Regions from separate parts of the Homo sapiens genome. Here regions 2, 3 and 4 are each linked to region 1. The links are contacts of gene promoters, found by promoter capture Hi-C in human tissues and cell types (Jung and others, 2019). All regions are on one chromosome and are shown on one strand. The core of a region is centred on a gene start or on the middle of the fragment in contact, and the rest is flanking DNA. Distances in the headings are between cores, read along the strand shown.

Region 1 (3,210 bases), core at 474-2,973:
TACTTCTCTGTCTTAATTCACTCATAGTCCCTTAATTGCCAAATCCAGCTGATTCTTTGACCCTTTGCAGATCTTTTTTTTTTTTTTTTTGAGATGGAATCTTGCTCTGTCAACCAGGCTGGAGTGCAGTGGTGTGATCTCGGCTCACTGCAACCTCTGCCTCCCGGGTTCAAGCGATTCTCCTGCCTCAGCCTCCCGAGTAGCTGGGCCTACAAGCACCTACCATCACACCCAGCTAATTTTTGTATTTTTAGTAGAGATAGGGTTTCACCATGTTGGCCAGGCTGGTCTTGAACTCCTGACCTCATGATCTGCCTGCCTTGGCCTCCCAAAGGCATGAGTCACTGTGCCTGGCTGAACTTTTGCAGATCTTTTGTCTCTTTCTCTCTTTGTGGTATTACATACAACTTTCTTTGCATCTTTCACCTCTCTAGCTCAGAGAGGTTAAGTAAATGGAATGGGGACTCGAACTCAGGCTAACTTCAAAGCACATGCTGCAGACAATATTCCATGCTGCTTCCCAAAGTAGACCAATAGTCTAGACCTATGCTGTCTAATATGCAGTCATTCGCTACATGCTATGGTTTGAATGTCCCTCCAAAACTCAAGTTGAAATTTAATTGCTATTTTAACAACGTTGAGAAGTGGAACACTTAAGAGGTGATGAGGTCACGAGGGCTCTGCCCTCATAAATGGATTAATGCATGGGAATGGGTTAGTTATGGAGGGAGTGGACTCCAGATAAAAGGATACGTTTGGCCCCCCTCCCTCTCTCACATGCACACTTCCTCACCATGTGATATCTTCTGCCACGTTATGGTGTGGCAAGAAGGCCCTCACCAGATGTCGAGCAAATGCTGGTGCCATGCTCTTGGGCTTTCCAGCCTCCAGAACCACAACCCAAATACATTTCCTTTGTTTATAAATTACCCAGTCTTTGGTATTTTGTTATAGCAGCAGAAAACTAAGATACTACCTGTAGCTATTTCAATGTAAACAAAATGAAAAATTCAATTTCTTGGTTGCACTAACCATCTTTCAAATGCTCAACAGCTACACGTGGCTAGTGGCTACTGTATTGAACAGCACAGATATAAAGCATTTCTACCACTGCAGAAAGCTCTGTTGGATAGTGTTGGTTAGATAAAGGTTCTGTCCTCTGACCTCTTTACCCTCTTTTCCTTTATTTATTCTCAGGAAGTGGACAGACATTGTTTAGTCTGCCTAATCCTTTACTCCTACTTTTCTGAGAAGTGTTACTCTATCCTCTACCCTCCAGCATACCTTCATTCATAGAGTTACAGTAGATACAACCATGTTTATGCATGACCCTGTCCCCCTTTCCATAATGATACTTGATTCAGTGGTGGACATTTGGCCAAAGCTAGCTCTAACAAGAGCTCTTCCTCCCAGAAATTTGAAATTGAGCCTAAGAATCTAGTCACCTGGATGATTTTTTGAATGGAGGCAACTTGGGACTAATTGGTTACCATGTTTTATATGACATGGATTGGGAAAACTGGTCTTCAGAATGATAAAGCAATGACAAAATGGTTACACATATTGGGGAAAGTTGGATCTAGGTGTTCAAAGGATGTCAGGACTCTGTCTCCCTCTCTGTCTGAATTCTGCCTTCCTCTGTGATGTCTTCATTCTTAGAAAGGCTCTTTCCATGAAGCAAGAATAATGGCTGCCCTCAGTTCCTCATAGCTCAAGATCTCCAGAAGAAAAATCCTGTCTTTCTTATATATTTCAAATCTTTAGAAGGGCTTTTCTTAGCTTAGTTTGGGTGATGTGCCCATCTCTTCAAAAACTGTGATCTGTTTTAGCAAGGTTTCCTAGAAAACAAAGCCGGAAGAAGGGATTAAGTGCTAAAGCTTTATATGAGGGGCACAGCCATGGAGTAGTGAGAATTAAGGATAAGAGAAAGTGGGAAAACATGAGAAGCAAGGGAAGGAAATGTTTGCTGGCTACTTCACAATGAGCTGTAGCTAGTCTCTTGACAGGCGCACCCACTTGGCCATGGAGAATGTCTCTCTAGACAGGTTGTATGGAGAAATTTTATCTTGAAACAGCTCATTAGAGGAAGGAAGGGAAGAGTGGATTGTTATAGCCAGCTCCTTCCTGTCTCCCATTGATCAGTTTGCTCTGTGGGTAGCTAAATCCTCTGTAGTAGGTTGCTTCACTGGCTCCTTCAGCAGCTGCTCAGGAAGCCAAATCCCACGCTCTGTGAGGTGGTGTTTCATCAGGGTCTGGAAGTTGCAGGAGAAGCCATAGACTCCATGTTTGTAACTTGATGGCCTCAAGCAACAGAACTGTGAGACCTCGCTTAGATTTGGTCAGCTATGTCTGTTGTTGAGGTGGACCAAGTGGCTAATTGTCTGGGAGCCAAATTACCCTGAGAGGCTATGAGGAGGTACTGGGCCAAGATGTGGGAGATCGCTGATTGGTCAGACTGGGTCATGTTCCTACTCCTGTGGCTAATGGGGTACAGAAGATGTGCTATGGTAGGATGCATCCTGTCCTCTTTCCCTTCATGTTAGTTCAGAGTCTCAGGAAATCAAACGCCAAGACAGAATAAAATGCAATAAATTTATTATGAAAAACATAATTTATTAATATATATATTATATATATTAATATATATAATTATTAATATATAATATAATTATATTATATATATATTATATAATATAATATATATTAATATATAATAAATAAAAAAATTTATTATGAGAGGAAATGGAAGGGGAAGACTGAGAGAGCCATCGCACAGTGACGCAGGCCTGACCCTGAGTGAAGGACAGAGGGAAGGTGTTCAAGGTGGAAGTGTCTCAGACTGCAATGAAGTTCTAAGGAAAGTTTGGCAAGGCCATTGAGGAGTCCTTGAGTCAAAGTCACCCATCGGAAGAGTATCACTTATCCCAGGAACAGTCCTGTCCTAAAATCCCCGTTGGGCTCAGTTATTGGCTATGAGCAGCGTATGGGAAGTAAGACCTCGGAGTAAAGGGCAATGGATTTCAAAGCTCAGGATGGATTTCAGAACTCAGCAGCTGGACTGCTGGTAAATTACAATTTCCTCAGTCAGAGATCTGAGAAGCACATTCTCATGGCCACACACCCTCCCAGCCTAGCCAATACATAGATGAAGAAGGATAAATTCTACAACCTTTAAAGAAAAAAAAAAAAAGTAGGCTGGACGCAGTGGCT
Region 2 (3,210 bases), core at 296-2,795, 440 kb before region 1:
GGCTTGAAAGTAGGCATTGCCTAAGTCAGTAAGTCCTAATAGGGCATGATATGGAAGACTACTGAGTGGAAGTGACTGACAGATGAGTGGGTGGATGCCACTATTAAAGGTAAACTGAAGGCCGAGTGTGGTGGTTCACGCCTGTAATCCCAGCACTTTGGGAGGCCTAGGCGGGTGGATCACGAGGTCAGGAGTTCGAGACCAGCCTAACCAACATGGTAAAGCCCCGTCTCTACTAAAAATAAAAAAATTAGCCAGGCGTGGTGGCACATGCCTGTAATCCCAGCTACTCAGGAGGCTGAGCCAGGAGAATCGCTTGAACCCCAGAGGCAGAGGTTGCAGTGAGCCAAGATTGCGCCACTGCACTCCAGCCTGGGAGACAGGGCGAGACCAAAACCCCGCCTCAAAAAAAAAAAAAAAAAAAAAAAAAAAAAAAAAAAAAAGCCCTGTTTATATCCTACCTCCTTGCTGGGTGCAGTGGCTCATGCCTGTAATCTCTGCACTTTGGGAGGCCAGGGCAGGTGGATCACTTGAGGTCAGGCATTCTAGACCAGCCTGGCCAAAATGGTGAAACCCCATCTCTACTAAAAATACAAAAAATTAGCCAGGCGTGGTGGCGGGCGCCTGTAATCCCAGCTACTCAGGAGGCTGAGGCAGGAGAATCGCTTGAACCTAGGAGGCATAGGTTGCAGTGAGCTGAGATCGCACCACTGCACTCCAGCCTGGGCGACAGAGTGACACGCCAGCTCAAAAAAATAAAAATAAAAAATCCCATCTCCTCACATTTCCATTCAACCTCAATACAACTCAGTTTTTTTTATTATGTGAAAACAGCTGCAACAGCTGCTGTCCATTTGAATTGTTGGAAATGTAGATCTACACTAACCAAGAGAGAAGCCACTAGCCACAGGTGGCTATTTAACTTTTTTTTTTTTTTTTTTAGATGGAGTCTCGTTCTGTCACCAAGGCTGGAGCACAACATCAGCTCACTGCAACCTCTGCCTCCCAGGTTCAAGTGATTCTCCTGCTTCAGCCTCCCAAGTAGCTGGGACTACAGGTGTGCACCACCACGTCAGGCTAATTTTTGTATTTTTAGTAGAGACAAGATTTCACCATGTTGGCCAGGCTGGTCTCGAACTCCTGGGCTCAAGTGATCCACCTGCCTCAGCCTCCCAAAGTGCTGGGATTACAGGCGTGAGCCACCATGCCCAGCCAAATTTAGTTAAAATGTAAAATGCAATCTCTGCTGCACTATTCACATTTCAGGTAACTAGTGGTTACCATATTGGACATGGCAGATAAAGAACATTTTCATTATTGCAAAAAGTTGTACTGGACAGCACTATGCTAGAGCCAGAACTAGCCAAAGATCAGACAAAGCAATATGAATGAACTGAAAACCCAGGCCGGTGCCTGGTTGGTTTTGAGTAAGATTCATTGGTTGGGTGAGTGGGAAGCAAGCTGACCTTTGGAACAGTGACATCACAAAGCACAGCTCACAATGGCTCTGGAATACCTAGGCCTCCAGACTACTCCCCCTAACTCATATTTAGATTCCTGAAGCTTCTGCACATGTAGTTCCTAGAGCTGCTGCTTATTAAAATGTCAACATCTTCATCTTCTAGCTGGGACAACCTCTTAGAGTCTCTCTCTCTCAGCACAGTATGGAATTGGATACAAGCAAGTTTTTTGGGAGAGACTAGTGCACCTCAGCAAACAAGTTTGGGACTATTAGATAATCTTGCTCCAGCTGTGCAAATCATCTTGAGGATTTCTTTCTTGATTTTATTGGGAATAGGAATATATGCCTTATGGAAACGAAGTATTCAGTCAATTCAGGTTATACTCTTTTGTTACAAACATTTATATAGTTATAAATTGAAATTTGATTAGTTCTCTCCCATATTGCTGCCACCAGTTTTAAGATCATGCAGATGTGCAAAGGCGAACCTTTGTCTCTTAAGTTGGCAAAAACTAGGTTATCCTTGAAAATCTCCACCAATTAGGCTTTGGGCATAAAAATGCTTTTCTCACAATGGTCTTTGGCTTGTCTTCTGTAATAAAATAGACCAAACATGTTGGTAACCTGAAAAGACAGCCTTACCCTCAAAAATTTTTGATCACTTATTCATCTTTGAGTGCTACTATGTTTATACAATAGGCACCAAAGTAGCTAGGATCATGAGTATGGCCTTTCTTACTATGCCATTGTTCTGTAACTGATAAGGAGGCATATGTATTAAGTCATCACAATGTGTTCATTATTGTGTTTTGACAAGATAAGGCTCCATAAGTATATAGGAGCTCTTTGGGGAGTAGGAATTTAACTGGCTGGGATTGTGAGAGACAGGATTTTACATACTTCTGTGTAGTCACCAATAATAATAGTTGACATACAATATAGTTGAATGCTTTGAGAATCTCAAAAATTCCATGAAATGGATGGAGATTATTTTCACATGACAAGTGAAGAAACTGAGGTGCACTGAGGTTCAGTGGAAACTTAAGGTGACAGGCTTTTAAAACGGCTTTCTTAGAGTGACAAGTTTACTTGATAAATGCAGAGAGAAGTTGTTATTGGATCATTTTTTAGCATTCACTTATTTTCATATGTCACTATTGTTTAGTAATCATGGTCACGGGGCCTTTCTATTTTAAACCATCACAATCCTGCATAACAGTCAGGGAGAGATTATTTGCTCCATTTTGTAGATGAGAGAACTTGATTGCTACCCACCCAAGTTCACATAGTTTGTAAGAGCTGGCAAAATTGGAGTTTGAATCGAATTTTTAGGATTTGAAATTCAGTTCTTCTCCAAAATCTCATTTAATGCAAACCAACTGACCTAAATCTTGAACAGGAATGTGTGTGTGTGTGTGTGTGTGTGTGTGTGTGTGTGTGTGTGTGTGTACGCGCATGCGCATATATATGTGTATTGTGAGGATTAAAGAAGATATTGTATGTGTAAATCTTAGCACATATATTCAATAAGTGGTGCTACAGTGAAACCCCATCTCTACTTAAAATACAAAAATTAGCCGGGTGTGGTGGTGGCACGCGCCTGTAGTCCCAGCTACTCAGGAGGCTGAGGCAGAAGAATTGCTTGAACCCGGGAGGTGGAGGTTGCAGTGAGCCAAGATCGTGCCACTGCACTCCAGCCTGGGCGACAAAGACTGTGTCTCAAAAAAAAAAAAAGTGGTGCTAGTTGT
Region 3 (3,210 bases), core at 347-2,846, 370 kb before region 1:
AGTCCTCAGACAGTGCAGGAAGCTGGGCGTCCCCGGGGCTGCAAGCGACCCTGGGAGCGGGGTCCTAGGGGCGCAGCTCTTCCGCGAACTCCCACGTATTGAGAATCTTCTGTATAGCAGGCACTGTGTGCCATTACATGCATTCATTATCTTACAGAATACTCAGAACCGGGAGGCGGGCGCTATTACGGGCCCCAGTTTGCAGTCGAAGAAACTGGCTCAGAACGTGAAGGGTCCATGGTCACTGAGAGTGGGCGGCGGCGCCAGGAGTCCGCCCTGGATCTGCCCGACTCCTTCCACTGTGCCAGTTTGCCCTTGCGCGGTCGCGGTGGGGAATAGATGGAGACGTGGACAGCTCAAATAAATCACAGATGGAATGTAAGGTTGTGCCTAGCAGGCTGCCGGCCCTCAGTGAGCGGTGGCTCGGGTTGTTGTTCTTACGTGAACGACAGGCAGAGACAGCGCCTCCTCCTCTCCCCATGGTGCGGGAAAACCCGACGGGAAAGTGGGGGAGGCGCAGAGAAAGGAGGTGTAGGGAGGTGAAGCGGGTACTATCTTCCCACTCGGAGCGCCCCTTCGGCAGCACAGCTGCCCGGTCCTCCCTCTGCTAAGCCCTGACTGCTGCAGGGGAGCAGGAGGAGCCGGCACCTCCCAGAAAGCAGACCCTCTCTCTGGATCCCGTTTGCCTGCAATTCAATGCCCCTGGGTGGGTGTGAGGTTTCAGGGAGGTCACAAGTCATATCAAGATGAGGCGAGCTCACAGCTGGAGAGTCTCCATCCTGCTGCCCATCTCTGAACAGATCAGAGATCTTAAAAGGCGGCCCTTTTAAGAGGCCAGCTCGGACCCAGGCAGGGGTCCCGGTGCCCACGACCTCCCCAGGCCGCGAAGTGCCAGGCTGGCGCCCCGCAGGCGAGCTCGAAACCACACCCAGCACCCGACCGGGCCCAGTCTCTGCCCTACCCGCGCGCCCGCAGCCCCCGGCGGCCCTCGGAAGGGAGACGTGGGTAGGCGGGCAGGGCCGAGAGGCCGCCTCGGGGCGACAGCGGCGTCTGGTTGGAGCCGGCGCCCCCTGGGAGGCGGCGGGGGCGGAGGCTGCGCAGCGGGTGAATGAGCACCATTGTATGCCCCGCCACCTGGGCTCCCCGGGCTGCCAGGACCGGGCGCCAGCTCCTGCCCCACGCTGCCTGTCCCGGGCCGGGCCGCGCGTCTGGGGACGGGTCCCGTTTGACTCTCCGGCTCAGCCACCTCCATTCACGGTGCCGCGATGGGCACCATGTATGCACCCACCGAGGGGACCTGCCCGCGGCGCTGTCCTCAGGTGGCCTCTCGGGCTAGGGGTGTCAGTAGGCGCGGGACACAGGCAGAGCTCCTCCATCCCGGACTCCAGACCCCGCACCCTGGACCCTGGCAGCGGAGGGGCTGCGAAACTTACAATCTGCGCCAGAGCGAGCACTACCACCTGGAGGAGAACAAGGAGGCTGCGGGGGGAGGCCGTAGCGGCGGCCATGGCTGGCGGCGAGACCAAGGGGGACGGGTGCGTGTCCGCGCACGCACCGACGGCAGAGTCTCCCGGCGCTCCTCCAGCGCTGGCTGTTCGCGGGCAGGGTGGGCTGGGGCTCCTGAATATGCGGGGGGCGGGGCGGGGGCCGGCGTGAGCTGTCACCTGAGAGGACCGGCGGGGTTGCCGGGAGGGAGGCCGGCGCCAGGCATCCAGCTCCGCCCCGCTCGGTCCAGCCTCCTGCGCCCACCCTCTGTCCTCGAGGGGCGACCGGGGTGCGGGTCGGAGATGATGGTCCAGTTTCTTTGTGAGAAGGCATAAGGCCGTCTGAGGTTCCCCTCGGGACCTTCAGGCCCCAGCACCTTCCCCCTGACGCACAGCCTGTGCCCCATCACTTACCCTACGTCCTCTCCAGGGCCCAGGCCGAGAGCACCTCGGGCTCTGCAGATCTTGCTGCAGGCTCTCCCCAGCTCCCGCCCACCTTGCTCCCCTCTCCTCTGGCTCCTTCCTCTCCAAGCACAAACAAACAGGCCTTTTCCATATTAATATGCCACAGTCCTTCCTGGATCAGCCGTCTCATGAATACTCCATCGGCCTCTTCCAGCTCTTTAGTGGAGCTGTGTGCACCTCCCCCACCCCCGAACTTCCTCACCTCGCTTTCACCTCCCTACTCTGTCCCAACAAGCAAATCTGTCTCCTGGAGGTCTGCAGTGAAGCCCAACCCTTCTTCGGTCCTCCAGGCAGGAAGCTGTTGGCATCTTCACCTGCCCTTGAAGTCTTCCCCATCCAAGCTCCTGCCATCCAGCTCCCCTTTTTCTATTGCCTTTAATTCTCTGCAGCTGCCTTAAGCACTGGTGTGTTTAGGATTGGGCCTTCTCACTCCATGTTCATAGAAACAACTACCACTTTATTCACCAGAGTTTCCGAACCCCGCTGTCCAGCATAGCCCGACTCCAGAGAGCCTTCCCTTCCCTCCCACTCACTTAGGCAATATTGGTAAAATGCTTTGGAATCTGACTTTTTCACAATTATAGATATGACCACAGGCACCCCAAACTCTATGAAGTCTCATTTTCCTCATCTGTAAAATGGGGATACTAATAGTCCATATATATATATATATATATTTTTTTTTTAAGACAGAGTCTTAAAAGGCTCTGGAGTGCAGTGGCACGATGTCAGCTAACTGCAACCTCGCCTCGCGGGTTCAAATGATTCCCCTGCCTCAGCCTCTCGAGTAGCTGGAATTACAGGCATGAGCCACAATGCCTGGCTAATTTTTATATTTTTAGTAGAGATGGGGTTTCGCCATGTTGGCCAGACTGCTCTTGAACTCCTGACTTCAGGTGATCTGCCTGCCTCAGCCTCCCAAAGTGTTGGGATTACAGGCATGAGCCACCGTGCCCAGCAAATTGTCCTTATCTTAAAGGGTTTTTGTGGAAATTGAATGAGATGACTCATGCGAGGCATTTAACCTCGAACCAGCACATAGTAGGTGCTTGATACATTTTAGCTTTCCTTATGATTTATGGATGACTGTTTTACTAGGTTGGCATCCAATGTGGGGAAGCTGGCCACAGGCAGATCAGCTAAAATGATGAACCTAGTTGAAGCTAGAAAAGTCCAACTCCATTGGGCAGGTTAGCAAAGGGCTCTGGATTTTGAAAGGTTGTCCTGGAGCTGAGTTTGGGAGAAAGAGCTTGAGAGAATG
Region 4 (3,210 bases), core at 402-2,901, 340 kb after region 1:
CCATGGTCATTTGAGTGGCAGCCCCCAAGTTTGCAGATTTGTCCCTGCTTCCCCAGAGACACCCCTCCATCCCCACTCTGCAGGCCACTCCCACTCAGAGGCTCTCCCTTGGGGTGAGGCTTTGGAGCTTGCTTGGGAAAAGTCCCACTTACCTCTCTGTGGCTGAAGGGCCCTTGGGCCTCACTCAATAGCAGGTCCTTCCCACGGGCTGCCAGCTCCTTGAGGATTAGGTGCTCCTCCAGGGCCGTCTGCAGGCGCCAGGGGAGGGAGGCCAGGGTGTCCCTGTGGACAGTCACCTGCACCAGTGCATAGGCCTTCCGCGGCCGCCTCACCACTTCAATGTGCTCCCGCGCCACCGGCATCTCCAGCCGCTCCAGGGTGTCTCGCAGCAGGCAGGCAAGCACCGGCACTGAGAACTGGGGGTTCAGATGGCCCACATAGAGAGTGTGCGCCGAGGGAGCCTCCTCGAGGTCAGAGTACTCCGTCAGGGACTGCTCTGCGGGTAGCTCCGGCAGGGACTCCTCACCCCAGGACTCCATGAAGGGCTCTGACACCTGTGTTTGCACTGATCTCTTCATGGGGGTCATGGGAAGGCTCTCCCTGGGAAGGGGTTCCAGGATTCCTCACTGCTGGCTGCTTCTCCCAGGGTCTGTGTTCTCAGTGTGGCTTAAGGGCTCCCAGAGGACTCAGGGAGTGTCCCGGCTCCTGGGAGGTACACAGATTGGCAGAGACTGGGCAGGGCCAGAGAGAGGGAGGGCAGAGGGCAAGCAGGAAAGGGCCTGCCACCCACCTGAGGCCTAGGATGAGAAAGCAGAGTCACGTGGACTGAGCAAGACACAGGGCCTGTGGGAAGACGGGATCTGCCCAAAAAGTGGCAGAAGGGACCAGAACTCAGGTCTCTGAGAGCTCCACCATTTCAGTGGCCCCAGGGGTCCTGTCTTCCCTCCCCAACCCACAGGCTAGGGGCCTCCTAGGTACCCTCAGGGTTTCCTGCCTACCAGTTCACTCCTGCCTCCAGGCAACAGAGAAAACCTTTACACAGGGCCTCCTGGAGAGGAGGCCTTAACCCAGGACTCTGAGGACTGGCTGGTGGCCCCATTGCAGCTTCTCTGCCTGCTCTAAAACCCCATGTGAGGCCATCGGGGGCTCTGAAACTAGGCAGCGCTGGGGCAGAGGCTTTTAGAGCAGAGGATCTCACGCTTTTTGGCACACTGATGAAAGCTATGGCCTCTCAGAAAAATGGCCTTTGCATATAAACATAACTTAAGGTGGCTCCTAGACCCTAAGAACTAGTCTAGACTGAGTCCTCCATTTTTGGTCCAGAGAGCAGAGGTCAACAGGGCAGAACGAGGGTTAGAGTTGGGGCCCTAGTGCCCCCGCCCCAAGTCCAGGGAGCCTCTGTCCTGAGCTGTGCACATATGTGCACACACCAGCCCCTCTACTGCTCCCCACACACCCAGCCTGCATCTTCTCAAATGGAATCCTTGAGGCAGTTGGCCTGGGGGCATTCAGGTCAAACAGGAAGAGGAGGAGAGGAGAGGCCTATGACCTTCATGTCCTGGTGGCTCCCGCGGGAGCATGGGAGGTGCCTGCCCTGAGCTCCCATAGCCTCCCGACCCCTGGCCGGTAGCTCTCAGGGAACTTGGAGGCTTGGCACAGGGACGGCCAGAACCAGGGTTATAGGAAGTGGGCGGGGCCTGCACAGCTACCTCTGTGATCTCATGAGGTTCAACAATGCCTTCTTGGCCAGCCACAGGCAGGCTGGGTGCGGGAAATCAAACAGGAAAACTCAGCTCCCTGTGGGTCCCACCACACACTGGAAGCAGACCCAGCGGCCCACCCACCATGCAGCTTGGCTGTGGGACACACTTCCCCACTTAGTGATGTCTCTTCAGGCCCCAGTTCCCATGCAGGTCACCTCTTGCCACCTCTTTCAGCGCTGCTGCCTAAAGCCTCCACCTCCCTCTTTAGTCAGTCACCAATCCCAGGCTCTACTGAGTACTGACAGGGCCCAGCTGCTCCCAAGATGGAGCAGGAGGCACATGGTAGGCTCCAGGGCTCCCCCTGACGCCAGGCCCTTCTCTGTGCTGGAGACAGAGGCTGCTGTCCAGAAGAGCCCTGAAAAATAGGTCAGGCGTAGCTATCTATCTCTTTGGGAAGATGAGGTTGTTACCTGCTGTTGGAGAAACCAAGACGTGGGTGACACACAGTCTTTATCAGCACAGGACTGACCAGTGCTCATCATTCTGCAGAAGGCTGGCAGCGCTTGCCCACACTGCTTCTGGAAGCCCCAATTGGGGGCAGTAAGGATGGTGCCACAGTTAGATGCTTCAACTAAGAAAGCTGTTTGACAGCGTAGAGAAGCTGCCTTCCTTGAAAGCAGCCTTTCTGAAGATGTTACCAAATGTTTGTTTCCTAGGGGGTGAGGCAGTAGTTTGGGTAGAGCACTCAAGAAAAGAGGCTATGGTGTGCGGGGAAGAGAGGGGCGCAGGCCTCAACTGGTGGCAGTGCGAGGCTCTGGGGAGAGTGCATTCGGTGCCCTCTCCTTGCCCGCCCGGGCAGCAGCCAGGTTGGGCTCGGCTTTGTGTCCACAGCTCTTAGGGTTAGAGAATGACGGCTCCAAGCTCCCCCTGCCTCACCCCCTCTCCCTCAAGCCTTTCTTGCCTCTGTCATCCATGAGGTGCCCTCACAGCAACTGAGGCTATAGCTGTTTTGAGATGGCCAACTCAAGTCGTGTTGAACTGTGCAGAAATAGCTGTCCGGGAGAAGCACCTTGACAGACGAAACACCTGAACATGACCAGAGGCGTTCTCCCTACTTACCTAGAGGCCTTGCTATTGGGTGGCTGTTCTGCATGAAATTTCCCAAATTGACTTGAGTGCAGCAACTTTCCCCACTCTTCCTGGCAGTCTCTTTAAGCCACTGCATCACATATTTCTCTGGCGCCTTTAACAGCCTTCTGTGAGCTGAATCAGTTCTACTTCTTTTTGGAGATGGGGGTAAAAATTGTCTTTCATGGTAAGCACTAAACACATTTATGAACCATCTTTTAAATACATAAATATAAGATAACAAGGTTATTTACGGTGTCTCTGGCTCTCTAGTATTAGGTAATAGTATTAGAAAGTATAGGTGCTCTGCAGGCAGCTTGGAGTGGTGGGTTCCCAGTGGGGGGATAAGCAGCCCCGTTAACCCTCTTGCTGGATGTCT

Evidence for each region. The method cuts DNA at HindIII sites, captures the fragments that hold promoters and counts their contacts. A contact is called where the count stands out against the background at its distance.
Region 2: the fragment with the promoter of TMCO2 here is called in contact with a fragment that was not itself captured in region 1 in 1 of the 25 tissues and cell types used here (hippocampus).
Region 3: a contact is called between the fragment with the promoter of COL9A2 here and a fragment that was not itself captured in region 1, in 1 of the 25 tissues and cell types used here (small bowel).
Region 4: the fragment with the promoter of SLFNL1 here is called in contact with a fragment that was not itself captured in region 1 in 4 of the 25 tissues and cell types used here (adrenal gland, bladder, dorsolateral prefrontal cortex and 1 more).

Annotation. Positions count from the first base shown.
Region 1 is chr1:40,682,669-40,685,878 of GRCh38, forward strand. It overlaps a transcript of RIMS3 not described here. Among named protein-coding and RNA genes, the nearest start is that of NFYC, 7.4 kb to the right of the region's middle. The HindIII fragment of the contact is 8,762 bases long and covers 1-3,210 here.
Region 2 is chr1:40,246,392-40,249,601 of GRCh38, forward strand. It overlaps TMCO2 (transmembrane and coiled-coil domains 2), which reads left to right and starts at 1,546. Exons shown (of 2, transcript NM_001008740.4): 1 at 1,546-1,839. The coding sequence starts at 1,603. The HindIII fragment of the contact is 6,512 bases long and covers 1-3,210 here.
Region 3 is chr1:40,315,690-40,318,899 of GRCh38, forward strand. COL9A2 (collagen type IX alpha 2 chain) reads right to left here and starts at 1,597. Exons shown (of 32, transcript NM_001852.4): 1 at 1,434-1,597. The coding sequence starts at 1,508. RefSeq lists silencers at 1-11, 772-1,281 and enhancers at 455-1,091, 1,092-1,728. The HindIII fragment of the contact is 32,999 bases long and covers 1-3,210 here.
Region 4 is chr1:41,020,074-41,023,283 of GRCh38, forward strand. It overlaps SLFNL1 (schlafen like 1), which reads right to left and starts at 1,652. Exons shown (of 6, transcript NM_144990.4): 1 at 1,550-1,652; 2 at 791-797; 3 at 153-705. The coding sequence starts at 587. The region is part of intron 1 of SLFNL1-AS1 (SLFNL1 antisense RNA 1); the gene reads left to right. The HindIII fragment of the contact is 20,466 bases long and covers 1-3,210 here.